Linked DNA regions of Homo sapiens: region 2 is linked to region 1. The links are contacts of gene promoters, found by promoter capture Hi-C in blood cells and fetal thymus (Javierre and others, 2016). All regions are on one chromosome and are shown on one strand. Each heading gives the region's core, a stretch centred on a gene start or on the middle of the fragment in contact. The rest is flanking DNA. Distances are from core to core; before and after follow the strand shown. Region 1 holds the start of NPR1 (natriuretic peptide receptor 1). Region 2 overlaps GATAD2B (GATA zinc finger domain containing 2B).

Evidence for each region. Contacts are between HindIII fragments. The CHiCAGO score rates a contact against its expected background, and 5 or more counts as called.
Region 2: a fragment that was not itself captured here is called in contact with the fragment with the promoter of NPR1 in region 1 in 1 of 17 cell types (M1 macrophages); the score reaches 5.5 in M1 macrophages.

The regions. Positions count from the first base shown.
Region 1 is chr1:153,676,991-153,680,342 of GRCh38, forward strand. NPR1 (natriuretic peptide receptor 1) reads left to right here and starts at 1,698. Exons shown (of 22, transcript NM_000906.4): 1 at 1,698-2,839. The coding sequence starts at 2,119. RefSeq lists enhancers at 935-1,916, 1,917-2,897 and a silencer at 2,439-2,498. The HindIII fragment of the contact is 5,247 bases long and covers 1-3,352 here.
Region 2 is chr1:153,878,309-153,881,607 of GRCh38, forward strand. All of the region lies in intron 1 of GATAD2B (GATA zinc finger domain containing 2B), which reads right to left. Among named protein-coding and RNA genes, the nearest start is that of GATAD2B, 43 kb to the right of the region's middle. RefSeq lists a silencer at 2,725-3,019. The HindIII fragment of the contact is 8,275 bases long and covers 1-3,299 here.

The DNA.
Region 1 (3,352 bases), core at 448-2,947:
AAAAAAAAGTCAGAAATCCAAATATTCATGTACCATCTTTTTTTTTTTTTTTTTTTTGAGACGGAGTCTTGCTCTGTTGCCCAGGCTGGAGTGCAGTGGCGCAATCTCGGCTCGTTGCAACCTCTGTCTCCCGGATTCAAGCAATTCTCTACCTCAGCCTCCCAAGTAGCTGGGATTACAGGCGGCCGCCACCATGTCTGGCTAATTTTTGTATTTTTAGTAGAGACGGGGTTTCACCATCTTGGCCAGGCTGATCTTGAACTCCTGACCTCATGATCCACCCACCCTGACCTCCCAAAGTGCTGGGATTAGAGGCTTGAGCCACCTTGCCCGGCCCCATCTTATGATATTTAAGTGTGGGGAATTAAATACAATATACATAAAGAGAATGCAAGCCAAAGCATGCCTGCCATCTCAAGTTGGCCTATCGACCACAATTTGCTCTAGATAATAAGAATATTCAAGTCTCCTAAAATTCCATATATAGGAAATGTACTTCAACATTCTGCTCTGTCTACACAGAATACCTTTCTCATCCTTCCATCCTCTTGAATTATTTCTTTTTTGGAGATTTTCTGGCCCCAATCCAAGCAGAATGAATAGCCCTCATCTGAGTCCTTTAGCAATTTATCCATGTCTCCCCTGTAGTGCTTAATGCATGTTGCATTACGGTTATTTGTCCCAAATGGAGCTCCTCAAAGGCACGGACTATATATATTCATCTTTATGCCCTCGGCACCTAGTGGGTGCTTAATGCACCGAAGGTTCTCTGGAAATGTTTGCTGACCTGAAGTTTGGTGATCTTATGTCCTGCTTAGGCGCAGCGTTGGAGAGGTTGGCGCTGCAATGCCGTCAATAACCCCCGATGACCATTAGAGGGCACACTGATTCCACAGCAGTCTGCACCGGGGGCCCAGCTGTCAAGTGCTCCAAAACCCACTCCCCAATTTACGCCTCCAGTGGTCATCTCCCACAGCCTTCATTTTAACAACCCTCAACACAAAACAGTCATTTTCTTGGGGCGTCCCTGAGGTGTGAACCTCCTCCCTCCCAGACACCCACCCACTCTCCCCATCTTCCTACAATTTGGGCGCTAAAGATTTAATTCCTCTCTGACACCAGATCATTTTTTCACAGCTAATCTGCACAGTCTGGAAGGTGGCAGGGAGGGAAAGAGAGGGAGATCATAGAAGGAATGGGTAACAAGCACTCTGGGCTCACCTTCAACTTTAACGGACTTTCCAGAAACCCGTCACCTTCCACCCCACACCCAAACACACACATCCACGCACTCACTCAGTTTCCTGCCAGGATCCCAAACCAGCACACCTTTCCCTCTTCCCCCGAGGAGACCAGGTAGGAGGCGAGGGAAAAGGTGGGGCGCAAGTGGGCCCCGGTTGCTTCCACACACACCCTCCGTTCAGCCGTCCTTTCCATCCCGGCGAGGGCGCACCTTCAGAGGGTCCTGTCCTCCAAAGAGGTAGGCGTGGGGCGGCCGAGACCGGGGAAGATGGTCCACGGGGAAGCGCGCGGGCTGGGCGGCGGGGAGGAAGGAGTTAAAGATCCTGGATTGGCTCTTCTGTCACTGAGTCTGGGAGGGGAAGCGGCTGGGAGGGAGGGTTCGGAGCTTGGCTCGGGTCCTCCACGGTTCCCTCCGGATAGCCGGAGACTTGGGCCGGCCGGACGCCCCTTCTGGCACACTCCCTGGGGCAGGCGCTCACGCACGCTACAAACACACACTCCTCTTTCCTCCCTCGCGCGCCCTCTCTCATCCTTCTTCACGAAGCGCTCACTCGCACCCTTTCTCTCTCTCTCTCTCTCTCTCTAACACGCACGCACACTCCCAGTTGTTCACACTCGGGTCCTCTCCAGCCCGACGTTCTCCTGGCACCCACCTGCTCCGCGGCGCCCTGCGCGCCCCCCTCGGTCGCGCCCCTTGCGCTCTCGGCCCAGACCGTCGCAGCTACAGGGGGCCTCGAGCCCCGGGGTGAGCGTCCCCGTCCCGCTCCTGCTCCTTCCCATAGGGACGCGCCTGATGCCTGGGACCGGCCGCTGAGCCCAAGGGGACCGAGGAGGCCATGGTAGGAGCGCTCGCCTGCTGCGGTGCCCGCTGAGGCCATGCCGGGGCCCCGGCGCCCCGCTGGCTCCCGCCTGCGCCTGCTCCTGCTCCTGCTGCTGCCGCCGCTGCTGCTGCTGCTCCGGGGCAGCCACGCGGGCAACCTGACGGTAGCCGTGGTACTGCCGCTGGCCAATACCTCGTACCCCTGGTCGTGGGCGCGCGTGGGACCCGCCGTGGAGCTGGCCCTGGCCCAGGTGAAGGCGCGCCCCGACTTGCTGCCGGGCTGGACGGTCCGCACGGTGCTGGGCAGCAGCGAAAACGCGCTGGGCGTCTGCTCCGACACCGCAGCGCCCCTGGCCGCGGTGGACCTCAAGTGGGAGCACAACCCCGCTGTGTTCCTGGGCCCCGGCTGCGTGTACGCCGCCGCCCCAGTGGGGCGCTTCACCGCGCACTGGCGGGTCCCGCTGCTGACCGCCGGCGCCCCGGCGCTGGGCTTCGGTGTCAAGGACGAGTATGCGCTGACCACCCGCGCGGGGCCCAGCTACGCCAAGCTGGGGGACTTCGTGGCGGCGCTGCACCGACGGCTGGGCTGGGAGCGCCAAGCGCTCATGCTCTACGCCTACCGGCCGGGTGACGAAGAGCACTGCTTCTTCCTCGTGGAGGGGCTGTTCATGCGGGTCCGCGACCGCCTCAATATTACGGTGGACCACCTGGAGTTCGCCGAGGACGACCTCAGCCACTACACCAGGCTGCTGCGGACCATGCCGCGCAAAGGCCGAGGTGAGACGCTGGCACACCCCGTCCCGCCGCTTAGCCGCAGGGCCTCCCCTCTGACCTGCCGGAGGCATCGGGACTTTCTCTCTCATCTGGGGGCACTCTTCTTTCTCCTCGCCGTTCTTCATTCTACTTTCAGCTCCCTGGCCCTTTCTACAGCTGAGTTTCTATTTCCCTCTCTTCTTCCGCCACCCCCACCACGTCTCTATCCTCTCATCTCCCCGACCCCCACTCATTCCCTCCCACCCTAGCACAGCTCGGTTCCGGTCCCTTTTTCCCTCCCACATTTTCTCTCTTCCCTATAGCCTTCTCCCTTCTTTCATCCTCTCCTCTCATTGCGCCTCATCCCCTCTCTTCTCCCCCTCCCTCTCCCTCCTCTCTCCCTCCTGGCCCCATCCTTCTCCACCTTCAGCTCCACTATCCCCCTCTCCCTACCCGTTCCTTCCTCCCTTCCGCCTCCCCCTTCCTCCTCCCGCCCACCGCCCCGCACCCGCCCGTTCCACCCTTCGACTTTCTCCT
Region 2 (3,299 bases), core at 45-2,544, 200 kb after region 1:
TGTAAAGATGGAATCTCCCTATGTTGCCCAGGCTGGTCTCAAACTCCTGAGCTCAAGCAATTCTGCGATGGTCTCCCAAGGTGCTGGGATTACGGCTGTGAGCCACTGTGACCAGCTCATCCTACAATCCTTAAAGAAAGTAATAACCTCATATTCACTTCCTAACAAAAGGAAAAAAAGCACAGATATTAACACCAAAAAATACAGACGTTCAAAGACTATTGCTTGTAAAGATGTGGCAAGAAGAGAAATTTACAGGCTTTAACAAAAATATACAAGTTCCCAATCAAATTAAGGAATTTCCTCTAGACTGCAACCTGATAAAAACTCTTACTACAGGATTAACGAGTTTGAAAGTTCCCTCTCATTCCCAACTCTCCCCATCAGTGCTGTTATTCTGAATGGTCAGAAGCAAAAATAAACTCACATAAAACCAACTGTAACAGTGTGACCCATACTTTATTCCTTTTTTTTTTTTTTTTTTTTTGAGACAGAGTATTGCTGTGTCGCCCAGGCTGGAGTGCAGTGGTGCAATCTAGGCTCACTGCAACCTCCACCTCCCAGGTTCAAGAAATTCTTCTGCCTCAGGCTCCCGAGTAGTTGGGATTACAGGTGCCCACCACCATGCCTGGCTAATTTTTTTTTTTCTTGAGACAGTCTTGCTCTGTCGCCCAGGCTGAAAGTGCAGTGGTACGATCTTGGCTCACTGCAACCTCCGCCTCCCGGGTTCAAGCGATTCTCCTGCCTCAGCCTCCCGAGTAGCTGGGACTACAGGCGCAAGCCACCACGCCCGGCTAATTTTTTGTATTTTCAGTAAAGACAGGGTTTCACTGTCTTAGCCAGGATCGTCTCTTATCTCCTGACCTCGTGATCCGCCCGCCTCAGCCTCCCAAAGTGCTGGGATTACAGGCATGAGCCACCACACCTGGCCAATTTTTTTATTTTTAGTAGAGATAGGGTTTCACCTTGTTGGCCAGGCTGATCTCAAACTCCTGACCTCATGTGATCCACCCACCTCGGCCTCCCAAAGTGCTGGGATTACAGGCATGAGCCACCGCTCTCGGCCCCATACTTTATTCTTTAATATACTTTCTCATTTTCACCTAACACAAAAGCTGCTTCATAAATATCACACCTAGGAGGCACATAAAGAGAATTTAAGAAAAGACATCAGGCCGGGTGCAGTGGCTCACGCCTGTAATCCCAGAACTATGGGAAGTCAAGACGGGCGGATTATGAGGTCAAGAGATCGAGACCATCCTGGCCAACATGGTAAAAACCCCGTCTCTACTAAAAATACAAAAATTAGCTGGGCATGGTGGCGCAGGCCTGTAGTCCCAACTACTCAGGAGGCTGAGGCAGGAGAATCGCTTGAACCCAGGAGTCGGAGGTTGCAGCGAGCCAACAATGCGCCACTGCACTCCAGCCTGGCAACAGAGCGAGACACTGTCTACAAAAAAAAAAAAAAAAAAAAAGACATCATACTAAACTGAGCAGAATTATAATTTCTAAATGAATGCTGATCCCCTAATTGCCAATGAAAGACACAATCACTACAACTGAACCCCAAAATTGTAACACTTGCAATGCATGGACACTTAGAACAATCTCTAATTTTTCCTTCCTTCCATGTGCTGTTTGACTGTCCTTTTGTACAATTCTAACTCTGGCAGATGGCAGGGAAAGAATACCGCATTTTGATAATATCATACTAAACAGAAAAGAAGAAATAAAAAAGAAGGGGGAGTCTCGAATGAGTAGTTAATAGATATTACTTGCTCTATTATCTGGCTTTTTGCTTCTCCTTAAGAACAACCCCTCTCCCCCACCCACCCCTGTACCCTTGGCAATTCTGAATGATTAGAAACAGTCGGCCAAGCGCAGTGGCTCACGCCTGTAATTCCAGCACCGTGGGGGCCGAGGCAGGTGGATGACTTGAGGTCAGGAGATCGAGACCAGCCTGACCAACATGGTGAAACCCTGTCTCTACTAAAAAAAAATTACAAAAATTAGCCGGGTGTGGTGGTGGGCACCTGTAATCTCAGCTTCTCGGGAGGCAGAGGCACAAAAATCACTTGAACCTGGGAGGCAGGGGTTGCAATGAGCAAAGATCACACCACTGCACTCCAGCCTGGGCTACCAAGTGAGACTGTCAAAAACAAAAACAAAAACAAAAAACAAAAAAGCCACACAATGTGGCCTGTCCCCTGCCTCCTTGCTCCTCACCCCTAAGTATCTTAACAAACTACAGCTGTAAAATCCAGGAGGCATTTCTCTTTTAATCATTCTTTTCTCAAGCACATACACCTTTGAATGGGAACAGAAAGAAGAGACCCACCAGCCTGGACAACACAGGAAGACCAAATTTCAATAAAAAATACAAAAATTAGCCAGGTGTGGTGGTACACGCCTGCAGTCCCAGCTACTCAAGAGGCTGAGTTGGGAGGATAGCTTGAACCCAGGAGGTCAAGGTTGCAGTGAGCCGTGATCACATCACTGCACTCCAGCTTGGGTGACAGAGACCCTGTCTCAAAAAAATAAAAAAATAAAAAAGGAGATCCAGGACAGTTACTACTTCTACTAGGAACATGGTCAATAACACTTGCACACAGAAGCTCTCTCGTTTTGCCACAACACAAATACCTTTTTCTTTCTAAGACAGCAAGGAAAAAAGTGTATGTGTGGATGTGTCAAAAGGGTATTTTTCTTGCTCTAAGCCTCCCCCCTCCCTCTCCTTGTCCATCAGCCCAAGCAAGCAGAGATGACGCAGACTTCCTTATATAATGGCCTGTGATTTCCTAGACTGCAGGCCTTTCCCTTTGTGTTCTGTATACACTTACACACACGAGCGCGCGCACATTCTCATTGCTTTGCAGCCCCTGGCATGATGCCAACACTCAGTCAGCTGGTTGACTCCATTCACAGAGCAGGGTTGGAGCTGACATGGAAAAGGGGAGGGGTAGAGAGGGTAAGGGGGAGGCTAGAACCATCACTGCTACAGACAAAAGAAATTTTAAAAAGGGGAGGAAGGAGAAAGAGAAAACCTTAATAAAACACTCTCCTTATTGCTTCAGCTTGAAGACAACTAGAAGCCAGAGACCCTTACCATTATAGCAAATGGATGAAGCAGAGGGAAAGAAGATCCAAACCGAAAGGAGCTTTGTATGAGAAACAATAATTCTGCAACAAATTTTTTTAAAGCAACAGTGTTTATTACTTCAATCCCATTAGAAACCTCAGCATATTACCTTCTACACATAGCCAAAAACTACTAGAAAGAACTCAGAAGAGATTTCGAG